Linked DNA regions of Homo sapiens: regions 1, 3 and 4 are each linked to region 2. The links are contacts of gene promoters, found by promoter capture Hi-C in human tissues and cell types (Jung and others, 2019). All regions are on one chromosome and are shown on one strand. The core of a region is centred on a gene start or on the middle of the fragment in contact, and the rest is flanking DNA. Distances in the headings are between cores, read along the strand shown.

Region 1 (3,732 bases), core at 327-2,826, 250 kb before region 2:
AAGCAAAGTTTATCTTGGTTGCCTTTCCACTTTCCCATGAAAAATTTTTCCACTTTCCTCCTTCTGGGGGCTCTCTTTTGCCTCTATCCCTTTCTTATTCCTGACAATCAGTCTCTTCTGAATCATTATATAAAGTAGGCTTACATTTGCTGGTAAAGTCAGTTCAGCATTTCTTGTAACAACCCTCTCCTTTTTGCTTAATGGCCTTGTGGTAGATTAAAGATGGCCACAAATTCTTTGACATTCTTCCCATGGAGAGACAGGGTCTATGTCCTCATTCTCCGAATCTGGGCAGGCTCTGTGACTGCCCCAACGCACTGAATATGGCAGAAGTGATTCTATGTCAACCTGCAACTCCAGGCCTTATGAAATCCACAGCTCCCTCTTGCTATTGCTTGAAATGCTTGCTCTTGGGAGAGCCAGCCGCCATGTAAGAAGTCTAATTACCCAGAGACCAACATGCTGAGAGAAGCCCAAACCATGTGCAGGGAGACTGGGGAGATTATGACACCACTGGGGGACAGAGAGACACCAAGGAGCACAGAGGTACCAGACAGGTGAGTTAAGAAGACTCCAGAACATCCTCCTCCAAAGTGTCTTCTTAACACACGTCTGGTAACTCTGTGAGTCCACGTTCTCCACCTGATGCAATCCCAGGCAAGTTCTTCCTGAATTCTTGGCCCACAAAATTATAAGCAAAATGAAATGGTTGCTTTAGGCTTCTAGGATGTATGGCTGTTTGTCATGCAGCAACAGATAACCAGACCACCACTTAACAGAGGGAGCAGTATCAGTGATGCAGCATCATCCACACCCACCAAACAACTCACTGGAATGACTGACCTGTTGTTTAGGAAAAGTGAGGATGCAAAAGAAACTTCAGAAGGTTTTACCCAGTAGGATTCAAAGCTATCCAATGACTATACTACTCCCTCTACAACAGAAGTAGTGAGAGTAAAGACTTGATATTTATCTTCAACTAAGCTGCCACTGTCCTTTGGACTAAATCTTTGTGTATCACATCAATATTTTAATAACTCAAATCTAGATGTGCCACCTCTATCTCAGGACAACCTAATTCTTGAGCACAAACATCATTCCTAACAATAACTCAGTAACAAGTAAGTTTAAAACCTTCAAATTTTCAAAAGCACTATTTCCATAGAAATCCCAAATTCTAGGTAAAGATTCTTAAGAAAGTGCCATAAACAGTGGCAGAAATTCCTTTTGTCTTCATTAAAAGGCACAAATCCTTATCCTTCCTTCCTTTTGCTTCTTTGGATTATGTTACTTAATAAGCATTCTAGGAAACCCCAGGCTTTACTGAAGGTTGAACTTGGAAAAATGCTTCTAAATAATTACAAGACTTGAGAACATTACTCATTCTGCTTCTATTTCTCTTTACCCCAAGAGTTCTGACATATTCCTCAGCCAGCATGACTTGATCCCCATCATGCCCAGCAATGCCTGATCCCAGGCCTTTGTAAGCTGGAACTACTCACAATTTTCTCACAAAATTCCTAGCAAATTGTTCCACAACTGACCTAAAAAGGAAGGGGCACAGTGACCAGGAAACTCTGCTCCACATTGTTTTAGCTGAACTAGCCAAATTCCTTTATCACCTGCCCTTGAACCCTTCGAGAAGAATTCCTTCCCTCTTTTATACAAAAATGTACCAAACAGAATGAGTTGCCTTTGTAGGAATTTGTTCCACTGCAGACTCAAAATAAATATGATACAGGTCATGTGACTTGTATCAAGCACGGGCTTCAGAACCAACTGTCTTAAAGTTGTAGCTCTACTATTTTATTCTATGACCTTACGCTAAGTTCGTTCCAGAGCCTGCCTCCTCTCTGTGAAATGGGTCAAATCCCACCTTCTACCTCACATGGCTATGGTAAAGATTTCATGAGATAAACTACATAAAGTGCACACAGCACAGGGCCTAATCAACGGAAAGCACTCAGTGAATGTCAGTTCCATTCCCTCAAAATCCTCCTACACCAGAATTAAATTAAATTATATTCAAAACACCAAATACTCAATTTTAATAAGCTTATTTCAAAATTGATGTAACTGTTATAACCACCTTAAATGTCAGAATCATTAAATTTTACGTATCTAATGTAAAATACTTCAGGAAAAATGCATTTTAGAAGCACATTTTAACAGATAAGGTTTAGATAATAGAATGCCACTCAGGTAAAACATTTAAGTACAGAAGCAACTCAAGTGTCAAAACTTTATTAGAATACATCAAACTCAGAAGTATTCAGAAAAGACATTAAATCCTGGTTCACTAATCTCATCAACCATAATATACCCTTGGTATCTACTTCATTTAGTGCACTGCCAGTACATTATCAGTATAGCAATGAATAAAATGTCAAAATTCAAATGAACAAAGATGCTAAGTTCTTTAATGTGAACTGTTCTATATTCCAATATCCAATAAAATGGGGTTACAAGCCAAGTCACTTAGAAATACATTTTAATTTCTAACTTTGTTTTAGCAAAGAAGTGAGTAAGAATTTCATATCACACCAGATTTAAGATATGGTTATCAGCTTATCTTTATGGACAAGTAGGTTTTAACCTCTACCCTAAATAATTCAATTCCTCTTCACTCTATTACCTGGTTCTCTTTAAGGAGCAATATCCTTGGTTTAGCAACATCCTTAGAGGCTAATTTTGAGACTGTGCTTTAGCCTACTTTCCCAACCTTTCCCATGTCAGGGCACGCATAGAAAATATCTGTATGACACATGCACATTAACTGAAGAGGCTTCTCACAGCCAGAAATGATTTGTCTGGGAGCACAGCCACCTCTAGGCTGAGGGGATCATTTATTTCAACACATATGTAATCCACTTGTGGCCCCTCTGATGGGAAGCTATGCTAGCCAACCTTTTACGTGGTTATCTAGCAATGCAGGAGGACGTCTCCCTTCTACTCCAATGTTCACTAGCTGGAACAAAAGACTAGAAGTCATTAATCGCCTGAGAGGACTGGGCACAGTGGCTCATGCCTGTAATCCCAACACTTTGGGAGGCCAAGGCAGGAGGATCGCCTGAGACCAGGAGTTCCAGATCAGCCTGGGCAATATAGTGAGACCTCGCCTCTACAACGGGAAAATAACTTGAGCGTGGAAGGTAAGGGCTGCTGTGAGCTAAGATAGCGCCACTGCACTCCAGCCTGGGCAACAAAGCAAGATTTTGTCTCAAATAAACAAATCACCGGAGGAGACCAGCAGCAGCATCTGGGAATCCAAGATGCCATTCCTCTGACGATCTACAGTTCATAACCATCAATCCTCTGAGGCCTATCAGAGAAAACAGATGCTGAAATCCTTATTTCTATCCCATGTATAATTGTCTTGTCCTACTGCCATTCTATAACTCCAGGGAGTGGCCACTCAACAGTTCAACATGAAGGAACCTCTTGTGAATTAAATTAAATGGAAGAGAGAAGTATCCGAAACAGCTGGTCTGAGCCGAGCTGACAGAAAAGCACTGATGAGTGTGTACAAGGAACAGTTAACTGCTTAAAATGAACCCTGACCCAGGGCCTATGATCGGCTACTACTTGACTAAAAATGTCCCCAAGGCTACTTCCAGCTCTCTAATTTCAAGGTTTCCCAACAGAAAAATAATTACGATAGATAAGTATTTCACTTCAACAGCCTTGGATACATTTCTAAGACCACAGTGGAAGTGTGGAGTAGGCAGACAA
Region 2 (3,686 bases), core at 369-2,868:
TGACTCTTGCCATGAACCAAACAAGGGACGAAATCAGTAGAGACACCAACCAGAAGAAAGCTCTGAAAAATACGGGAAAAAAAGTTACAAGTGAACATCAGTACAGGATTAATAATGTTTAAAAGCAGGAAAAAAAAAAAAACCTGCTTGAGAAGGAAGAGATTTCTTGACGTTTCAATAAGGAAAAGAAAGTCCTCATAAAGTGATACTCTGATCAGTTGTTCTTAACGGTGCATTTTCCTTGGTGAGACAAACGTGTCCAAGAGGAAGGCTGAGGTTTCCCAACAATTACTTTTTTCAATGACCCTGCTACTTGCAAGTACATCTGCAGACTCTATCTGCCAAGGACTATCTAGCTAGAAACTTGGTTATTTGCTACTCTTTCTAATCAATGCTCTGCCCATTGATGAGCCAAAACAAGAAAATACACAACCCTGATTACTGCAATTTTCATATTCTTAAAACTTACAAGAAATTATGGATTTACTGATCAGATATCTGCAAAGATGAGTATCTTTTCCAGAAAAATATCTACATCTCTATTAATAAAGTGACTGGTATAAAATTCAACTTGAAAACCTGTGTTCTGATCTGGATCAGTATCCAAGCCCTCCAGGTCTTACAGCACCCCTGGGGATTCTAATGATTATAGCAAGCTTTACAGACCCTTCCCAAATCTCTATTATTTTTAAAATGACATGCAGCGAAGCACTTTCAATACGTTTGTGGGAGGTGAAGAAACGCAGAAAAGCGGGAATCATTGGCCTAGTCTGGTGCCAAGAGAGACTCATCAGAGGAGGGGGGATGTGGTATGTGCAAGTAAGAGGCAGGTGATGACTGCGATGGGACACCAGAGTCCGGTATTTACCAAGCTCCCAGAAGGAGACGCACAGTCAGGTGCTTCGGTGTTTTTACAGGTTTCCACCCTTCGGCTGCACAACGGAACCATCCAAAAGGAGCTTAAATTTTTTTTTTTTTTTCTGAAGCCCGAATCCCATCCCCTAGACATTCTGATTCAATGGATCGGGGTGGGGGTGGGCATCGGCATGTTTTAAAGCACCTGGCCACAGGTGATTCTAATAGGCGGAAGTCGCGCACTACTATCCTAAACGCCAATGGTTTTTAACCCTTTGGGGATTACACATGCCTTTGAGAATCTGAGGGAAATTAGGGACTCCCCCTCCAGAAAATGAAGGATGCATATATGAACTTATCCATAATTTTTTTATACAACTTTAGTAGCTTCACGGATCACTAAACCCCACCCATGAGCCCCAGGCAAAAGGCCCTGACCCCCAGTGTGCGCTTCTTCCTAAGAGGGCGAGGCGCCTTTGGGGAGCCGGATCTCCGCTCTCCCCCTCTCAACCCTCCTCCCGTCTGAAACGCAACAAGGTCGAGCCGCGCGGTGGGGGCGCCGAGGGTCGCGGGTAACCCCAGCGGGGGAGGGGAGCCCCGGCGTCCGGGTTTCCCGACGCGACCGCCTCACCCGGCGATGAGGAAGATGATACGCAACGGCTCGGTGGCGATGGTGAAGACATAAAGGGCGAGCGCAGGCCCGAAGGCAATGAAGGCGCAGCCGAAGAACACGGCCGCAGTCATGGCCACCGCGGAAACCGACCCGGGGGCCCGTTGGGGACGCGAGATGCTCCCGGCGCGGGCGGGGTTCGGTGGGTGGGGCTCGGGGTGGGGGGCTAAGCGGGACGCGGGGGGCGGGGCGCGGCTCATGGGCAGGCACGGGGACGGGGGCGGGGCTCGGGGGCGGGGCACGTGGGGGCGGGGGCGGGGCTCGGAGGCGGGGTACGTGGGTCGCGGGGCGAGGCGGGGCGTGGGGGTAAACGCTAGGGCCTGGGGGACTGGGCGGGGCGTGGGCTGAGGGCGCCGGGCGCAGGGGCGGGCTCAAGGCGGTGAGCGCGGACCCCACCGTTGGGCCCTCCGCCCTACCGGGTGTCCGGAAGCGCCAGGGCCACGCCGCAGCTCCTGCTCCCGAGGCGGGCGTCCTCGGCGACGTTAGGGCCCCAGCCATCGCCGCAGCCCCACAGATACACTCCGATCGGGTTCCAGTGCCGGCCGCGAGGTGGTTAAGAGAAGGGAAGCTCCCTAGCCCACCTTCGAGCCGCATGCACCGAGAACAGGCAGAGATTCCAAGTCAACCAAAGAGACTAAACAAAAATGTAGCGCAGGAACAAGCAGGATTCCTTTTTAAATAGGTTTTTTTTTTTTTTTAAGCACATTTTACCGTTTGGATAGTTGCGGGAACTTCGTACTCCATCCTGTATAAAACCTAGGCTGGGATAGCAGTGACCCCGGGGATAACCCACAGATGGTAAAATGATGAAAGAGTGGTGGAAGAAGCTGCCCTTCTCAGGGCTGTTTCAGCCAAATGGTTTTTATTTTTTTCCCAATTCTTCAAAAGGGTTGTTTTTGCAGGCATTCTGTGACCACCCTACAAGCAATAGTAACATCTCCCTGCTCCGTCTTCTCACAGTCGTCCATTTCACTTGCTTATTTTTCTTCCCCGTTAAAACGCGAACTCCTGGGGGACAGGGACTTTGCTTTGCTCTTTGTTGTTTCCTCAGCACCTAGAAGTTCACTAATATCTGTTCAATAAGTGAAATAATTTAAAAGGTGGAAGTTATAAACATCTATATTAACAATTTCTGAAAGGTTTAAAAATTAAAACTTAAGTTCTCTGATCATTCACATCCAAGTTAGATTTTTCTTTATGTTGAATAATACTTCGTCGGTTATTTTGATCAGTGTGCCTGACACAGGTAAGTGCTATGTAAGTATTAACCACTCCTACATAATGTCCATCATGAATAAAGATTTTGGCAATCCACATTTAAAAAAACACCAGTAGACAAATGTTGGGACCTGACAGATGTTTTGCAGCTCGCCCCTGAAAATGCACCTTCAAATAATACAACTGCAGGTATTTAATTCTTACAGAAAAACATTACCTTTGCCCATTTAAAAGTCATATATATTTCCATTCACTCCCACAGAATACTTCTTCAGATTCCAGTGATTGTATTTTGAATGGTCAGATCCCAGCACAATACCTATCAAAACTCGGGTCGAGACAACAGTTCAGAGTGATAGATCTGCTTTGTAAAGATATGGAAAATGAGCTTCCAGACTGGAGGTCCTCAGTGCAACGCAGGCATGAGATGGCAGTGGCCTGATTCAGGGAATTAGCAGGACTCTGGAGGGAAGCAGACAAATTTAATAGAAGTTTAGGAATTGTACAAACAGAATTTAGTGACTAATGAGCTACATAGAGTGAGATGGGGGAAGAGTCAAGGATGAGGGCTTCTAGAGGGTTCGGGCTTAAGTGGATGCTGTGGAGACAGGAGGAGGAGAGAATATGGCAAAGTAGACACGATAATGAGTACCATTTTGTTATTTTGTTGTTACTGTTTTGGAGACATAGTCTCACTCTGTCGCCCAGGCTGGAGTGCAGTGGTGTGATCTCAGCTCACTGCAACCTCTGCCTCCCGAGTTCAAGCAATTATCCTGCCTCAGCCTCCAGAGTAGCTGGGACTATAGGCACGCGCCACCATGCCTGGGTTATTTTCGTATTTTAGTAGAGACAGTGTGAACAATGTTGGCCAGGCCAGTCTCGAACTCCTGGCCTCAAGTGACTTGCCCACCTCGGCCTCCCAAAGTGCTGGGATTACAGGCAT
Region 3 (3,586 bases), core at 528-3,027, 210 kb after region 2:
CTATATTTTAAAAATGTCCACAAATGAAAACACAGCCATTGAACACAAAGATTATGTACAATCCCTCCCAAAGAGTATGTGCTAAAAAGCACAAAACAAATCACGACTAAACAGAGTAATCATATTTAGAAAACCTAAGATGTCATTTTCATGATCAAAATAAAGGTGGCTGAGTCATGAATATACTTCAAAAAAGCTTGAACTTTTCTTTGTGCTATAAAAGGATGATCGACAATAACCAAAACTTACATTGTTTGAATCCAAGTTCTTTTTCACCCTTCTCAATGTATAACTTCCTAGTAATATGGGACAGCTACAGAACCATTCATCATGAGCCTTTCATTAGTTAGCCAGGTCCTCCCAAGTAAGGCCACCGAAATAATCAACACAGAGGGGTCACTACATCCCGAGCTAAACCTCCAGCAAAGGAAGACACTGATCAAGCCAGACCTTTCAACTCTCAACAAGCAATGTCCCCTGTGTGACCCAGACTGCAAAGCAGAGCCATCACAATTCCCCCAAAACCCCCCCAGATGTCCAGACCTCATTCTAACCTTTGAAAATCAGAACTCTGAGAGGGAATGCAGGCCTGGGTATTTTTTTGAAGTTCAACAAGGAACTACTGCTTTAGAAACTCCTGATATAATTCTGTATAGTGTTCAGTATTTAAAAAGAAAAAGCAGCAGCCAAACACTAACCCTCATATGTGTGAAGCAGCTTTGTAGTTTTATTCAATGTTGAAACTAAAATGTCAATAAATAAGAAGTAAAAAGAATAGCAAACAGAAATAGCTTACACAGTGTTTATTTGACACTGAAACGAAGAGCTTCTGTACAATAGAAAGCACAGTGTGTGCCTGGCTCTAAGGCAGGATGCTAAGAGAGAGAACCAGGGTCAGCTGGAGAATAGACAAATGCAGAGCTCAGAGAGGTGGGACATCCAGCTCGACGAGGGAGTCTTGGGAGAAGTGAAGCAAAGAAACTTATCTGCGTGAAGATAAAAAGGTGGGAGGAAAAAAAAAGTGGCACAATGAGAAAAAAAAAAAAAAGAAAGGAAACCAAACCAATAGATGAGAGCACTTGAAACACAGACAAGAAGCAGTCATGCAAACCCCACTGCCAGCCACACCCTTGGAAGGACATCCATCTTCCCACCTGAGGCCGTCACAGGCCGCCTTTCGGCAAGGGTCCATTTTAAGAAGACCCATGAACAGAATTTAAAAACAAAAAAAATTTTAAGCTACACTCGTCTTTCAGAATATTTAATCATACTTGATGCAAAAAGTTTTTCCCAAAGAATCACCACATTTTAGCACTGAAAAAGACCTTAGAGACAGATGATCTGCTCCACCCCCTCATTTACAAATGAGGGATGAGAAGACACATTTTCTCTGGTTTCCATGGCAACAGTCATGTCTCTAGAGGCTTTTTTGTTGACTGTGGGGATTCTATAACCTCTAAGGCAGCAGGCACATGCCACTCTCTTCAAGTTACCATTTTTTCTGCATGGGTAAATGAATGACAGGTGGGCTTGGAAAATGACATTTCCAGCTTCAATGGAATTCAGGGTGATATTAGAATGAAGAACTCTGAAACATTCCAGGTTAGAATTTAAAGTAGTAGAAAAAGTTTAATGTTTAAGTTTGGTTAGTAATATGTAAATTAGTTGTATCTGTTCAAGGTTCTTCTCATGATAACAAGACTACCTACTCCAACTCTTACTGCCTAACAGTAAAATCTGGGCCATTAACTCCCAAGCTCACATTGTACAATCTGTGTTTAATTTCCCATTTATTTGACACAGGTTGTGGTAAATATTTATCGTGGGTATTTTAATTCCTTTCATAAAAACACAAAATTAAAGGCTTGGTTACTCAGCAGAGGGTTCTTTTTACTCTACCATTCTTTTTTTTCTTGAGACAGAGTCTCGCTCTGTCGTCCAGGCTGGAGTGCGGTGGTGCGATCTCGGCTGACTGCAAGCTCCACCTCCCGGGTTCATGCCATTCTCCTGCCTCAGCCTCCTGAGTAGCTGGGACTACAGGCATCCACCACCACGCCCGGCTAATTTTTTTTGTATTTTTAGTAGAGACAGGGTTTCACCGTGTTAGCCAGGATGGTCTCAATCTCCTGACCTCGTGATCCGCCCGCCTCGGCCTCCCAAAGTGCTGGGATTACAGGCGTGAGCCACTGTGCCCGGCCTACTCTAGAATTCTTAAAAGTAAAAGAGATGATCTTTTGTAGTACCACTGTTAAAGCTGTATTGGATCATGCCAATTTCCTTATCCTCAGATTCTCAATAACCTGACACTTTAAGGGTTCCTTCAAATTATATTTAACGAAAATGATTATGTTGTACTTAGTTGAATTTCAGGAAACAAATTTTGATATTTTTTGAGAAGTTCCTGTACAACAAACGGCATGGCCTTCTAGTTTTACTTGAGTTTAGCTTAATTTCCCAAAAGGACAGTGCTCAAGGTCACTCATTCTAGTTCACTGCTCTAGTTCAGCGTTTACAAAATAAACGGATTCTGAAAAGAAAATGGTTTGTATAGACAGACTTAATCTAATTGGCCTTTATATTAGCAGAAAGTGAAAAAACAATGACTATTCTAGGTTATGACAAAAAGGGTGAACACAAGAGTGCAAAGATGGAGATTAGGGAGCAAGGAAGGCATGGTGGTGAGTTTATTACATTAGCATGAGGGCAGGGTGTAAGCAGGCAGAGTGGATGAACGTTTACATGGAAGTCATATCGTTGAGAGCGTGGTCCAGCTCCTCGCTGATGGCTTTGTACTTCAGTTTCTGAGCGTACAGCTCGTCTATGACCAGGAAGTGGAAGGCAGAGGTGCAAGAACATGGAGAGTGATCAAGAAATGGAGGGTGAGTGAGGGTGGTGCGCGCACCATCCCAACACAGCAGCAAGAAAAGGGCAATGCATGAAGGGGTTGGTGCCGCAGCAGGTGGCCAATGCAGGAGGCGTGCGTTTTGTTTTAAGTAAATTGAAACAAAAACAAAGAGAACAAAACCCATTAGAAAATAAAATGAAAAAGACTCAATATGAAAATCCTAACAAATATGGTAGGTATATCAGTAAACCATGTTAAATTGTAAACGAAACCACAGAAGGCTGTCTCCTGGTGAGGGGAGGCAGGGGCTAATGGAACATCTTTCTTTTGCAGAGCTATATTTTAATTACACTGGAGTAGTCAGGCATCTGCAGCTATAAACAATGGGAAAAAAATGCAAGGGCAGTGTTTTGGAAGAACAATTTGTGACTACAGCCTGTAGTCCTTATCTGGTTCCACCTTCAAACCACTGACTTCCTGACCACACTAGACCACTGGGATAGCGATTTCTTAGTGCCATTTAAGCTACTCCTGTGGTCTTCCCACTCAAGCTGCCTATTACTGGTCCAGGAGGCTTGAAAAGCAATGGGCGCCACACTTTATATGGCAAGTCTGCAACTTAGTTTTTGTAATGCTGCAGGTTTCATACTTTGCTGCACTTTGGCAGATCATTTTGCAACCATTTGTCATTCTCTCTTCTCCACTATTTTGGTTATTATCTGCACCAAACACTAGTTCCTT
Region 4 (3,494 bases), core at 529-3,028, 190 kb after region 2:
TACATGGTTTAAAACAATATATATGAAGCCATCTGGTGTGGTTCCTCTTCCATAGTGAACACTTAAAATTATTCAAGGGATGTTTTAAAACATCAAAAAGTATTTAGACAGGCACGGTGGCTCATGCCGGTAATCCCAGCACTTTGGGAGGCCGAGGCAGGCGGATCGCCTGAGGTCAGGAGTTCGAGACCAGCCTGGCCAACATGGTGAAACCCCATCTCTACTAAAAATACAAAAATTAGCCAGGTGTGGTGGCGCATGCCTGTAATCCCAGCTACTCGGGAGGCTGAGGCAGGAAAATCGCTTGAACCCGCGAGGTGGAGGTTGCAGCGAGCTGAGATCGCGCCACTGCACTCCAGCCTGGCGACAAAGCGAGACTCCATCTCAAAATAAATAAATAAATACAAAGTATTTAAAAAGGCAAGTAAATTTACTTACAATCCACCACCTAGAAATAACCTTGTTATTACTATGATGTGTTTTTTTCCCCTAGTATTTGTAAGTGATATGGCCGAGCTCCCATCACATATGTGTAAGTCACTCGACCAAGGTGCCAAAGCTAAGACAGGGGCAGAGCTGGGCTCACACACCAGGCAGGGCTGCCTCCAGGGCCAGGTTCTTCTGTGTAGCTACTTCTCCACACTTCCTCAATCAAGTTAAGGATTAAATGTCTTTTGAGAAACTGATGAAAAAATATTTCAAGTGTTTCAAGTTTGAAAATATACACTTACATTCAAAAGCATGTAAAGAAACCAGAGGTACCTAAGACAATCTTATCATATAGTTCAAGGCTGGAATTCTGCCCAGAAGGTAGGGTTTCACTTGCAAAACATGAATTTCTACAGATTTTTGTTTGGCCAACATTTTCACTGTTAAAACATTACTGTTCAAGCTGTTACAACTACAACAAGTAAATTTGGAAAAATCAGTGAACTAATCATTTGACAAATGGATTAAATTGAGTGAATTAATGATTCAGCAGATTGGGTCTTTGGGTGCACTGATTTTTTGGCAAATTGGCTCGCATCTATTAACATGGAGTAGTGCTCAATGTATGTGCTTGTTGAATTAATTAACACATGAATGAATGAGTGCATTGAATCTTGCCATAAATAAAATGATCTTTCCCCCCGAAGGTCAATGACTTTACATGATGTCAGCATTTTAAGAGCCCCAAAAGCTTCTTGAGACAGATATTCTGATTCTAGGGTCACGGCTACTCACCATGTGTGCATCCCAACTCCAAATCCACACTCATTGCCTGGTTGGCTCCTCAGTGAGAGCTGGTGCTTCCCTGTTGGTTCTTAGGGTTGAAGCCCGCTCACTATGGGTCTTGGAGTCAGAAGACCCAGGTTTGAATGTCACTGGGCTTGTCCACATCTTAGCCACGGAACACTGGCCAAGCCAGTGCACCCTGGAACCGTGTTGTCACTGATTACATGGGGACAGTGCTGATGTCTGTCCTGCTTTGTTCCCAGCATCACTGTCACTATCAAATAAAATGGAAATGCTCTCTGGGAGCCGGAAAGTGCTAGGTGAATTTTAGTTCTTTATGAGTTCATTATTATGAAAACCACAGTGGCCATGTGTGTGCTCTGTCATGGAGGGAGTAGGAAGGCTGGGGACGGGTCTCAGGGAAGGAGGGCCATGCCTGCTCGCTGGTAGAGGGTCACTACTCACCTTTGCTCTTTGGTCTCTGCCTTTCTGGTCACTGACACGCATGATAGAAGGGCACACACACCTATTAAACTGCTTCCCCCAGGTCATCTGCCAGTGAGGAGCTGGCAAACCCCAGTGGCCCTACAAACGCCTCCTCACTGGCTGCTTCAGGCTGAGGTCATTTGCCCGGAGCCCCTGGGGTGGGGTGAGAGGGAAGCCGGGGTCCTCCCAGTCACCTTGGGCCCTGTGCGGCCAGGCTGGGTGGCATCCTCCTCCGTCTGGCCTCTCTGCTCCCAGCTCTGAACGCAGCCTGAGAGAGGGCAGAAGGGGTGTCTGCTGGGCACCTTTGCTGCCTCACAGCCAAAGAAACCTGGCTGGGGAGGGCCGGGCAGGGAGGGCACACAGCTGGGCATGACAGGGAGGGCGTGTAATGGCGTAAGCTTGGGAACAGGATCAAAGACAAAGAACGAGGGGGCAAGAGGTGTCTGGAGAACGCAATTTTTTCCTCCTCCCTTTTCTCAAGTGTAAGAGTAAAATCATTAAAGAAAATAATGCGCCCTTCAAAGGCGAATTGGCAATCAGTGTTGAATTTTAGTGCTGGAGTGGGTGACAGCACATCCCAGCTGCAGTCAGGAGACCTACCGCTGCTGAGTGACGCTGCACCAGCCACCCGCCATCAGCCACCAGCCCCCAGCCAAGCGGTCATTTACCACCCACTTGGTCTGGCTCACTTTCTGTTTCCTGAGTTATATTAGCTCTAGTGGAGACCTACCATAACAGTTCATCACGCTTGAAAGGTGCTTCTTCCTCCCAGAGAACTTCACGTCCACCCTCTAAAAGCTCATCTGTCTGAACAGCCCTTCAGGGTTAAAAGCACCTGTGCTCAGATGGACTCTGAATTGGAAGGTTCTGAGGTTCCATCTAATCCTGTTATTACCCAGACTTCAGCTGGGCTCTCATTTCACCTCTCAGAGATTTGGTTCAATTTAGCCTGGACCCCAATTCCAGGGCCAGTTTAAGACCATTACAGGCCCCAGGGTCTTTTAATTATGGAGTCCGCATTCCACATAATATCAAACACATTAGAATATACCCATATTTCACATTGAGTATCACATTTTTGCTGTAGAAAGGATCAAAAGGACTTTATTAATCTTGCTTTTGAAATTATAGCTGCTCATTGACTACATGTCTGGCTATGTTCTCCAGGCTGGCATTGTGCATGCACAGTACATTTTATGGAGGGAGAAAATAAAACCTTAGCGTTATTTTCAAACAGAGAATCCAGAAACACTAAATTTAAACATGAATGAATTGACGTTGTTTGTTTTATAGACATTTAATTAAAATGTATTCCTTTCAATTTCATACTTTTCCTTTTATATTTTAGATTCAATAATTTTTTTTTTTTGGCATGTCACGTATTTTCACAGGCCTTTGAAAAAAGCTCATTGGCCAGAGGCCCTGTCCCCGGGGCCCTGCAGACCAGATGGCTCTGCTGGTGTTTGCTGAGAGCCCTTCCCAAGATTTTGCCCCACCCCTCACCTCATTCCCAGCATCTTTCTGATCCCCTGCTCCCTGTTCCTGTGTGTCTATCTGCCTGTGTTTCAGTTTCCACTGGTATCAAAACTGACCGCAAAGCCCAGCTCCTTCACTGTTACATGGACATTTCATGAGGTTGGTACCTGGACACATTCTGAGGACCATGGAGAACTGTCACTTACATACCTTGTAAGCTCCTGCCATCTGCTTGGCTCCACCCTTTCCCTCCCAGTGCCCACCCTCTCTCACTCCACATCCTGCCAAGGGCAGCTCTCCAGGGAGCCTGCATCACA

The links. Contacts are between HindIII fragments. The study calls those that stand out against the background at their distance.
Region 1: a fragment that was not itself captured here is called in contact with the fragment with the promoter of APH1B in region 2 in 2 of the 25 tissues and cell types used here (hippocampus and mesenchymal stem cells).
Region 3: a contact is called between a fragment that was not itself captured here and the fragment with the promoter of APH1B in region 2, in 1 of the 25 tissues and cell types used here (mesenchymal stem cells).
Region 4: a fragment that was not itself captured here is called in contact with the fragment with the promoter of APH1B in region 2 in 4 of the 25 tissues and cell types used here (IMR-90 fibroblasts, heart right ventricle, lymphoblastoid cells and 1 more).

The regions. Positions count from the first base shown.
Region 1 is chr15:63,521,450-63,525,181 of GRCh38, reverse strand. The region is part of intron 1 of USP3 (ubiquitin specific peptidase 3); the gene reads right to left. Among named protein-coding and RNA genes, the nearest start is that of USP3, 19 kb to the right of the region's middle. The HindIII fragment of the contact is 6,559 bases long and covers 1-3,732 here.
Region 2 is chr15:63,275,537-63,279,222 of GRCh38, reverse strand. APH1B (aph-1B gamma-secretase subunit) reads right to left here and starts at 1,618. Exons shown (of 6, transcript NM_031301.4): 1 at 1,487-1,618; 2 at 1-62. The coding sequence starts at 1,599. It overlaps LOC124903504 (a long non-coding RNA gene), which reads right to left. Exons shown (of 2, transcript XR_007064674.1): 2 at 2,371-3,205. RefSeq lists silencers at 1,312-1,591, 1,672-2,091. The HindIII fragment of the contact is 12,664 bases long and covers 1-3,686 here.
Region 3 is chr15:63,063,296-63,066,881 of GRCh38, reverse strand. It overlaps TPM1 (tropomyosin 1), which reads right to left. Exons shown (of 10, transcript NM_001018005.2): 9 at 2,740-2,818; 10 at 704-986. The coding sequence ends at 983. Among named protein-coding and RNA genes, the nearest start is that of TPM1-AS, 16 kb to the right of the region's middle. The HindIII fragment of the contact is 6,156 bases long and covers 1-3,586 here.
Region 4 is chr15:63,089,530-63,093,023 of GRCh38, reverse strand. No RefSeq gene overlaps it. Among named protein-coding and RNA genes, the nearest start is that of LACTB, 31 kb to the left of the region's middle. RefSeq lists an enhancer at 1-2,678. The HindIII fragment of the contact is 4,531 bases long and covers 1-3,494 here.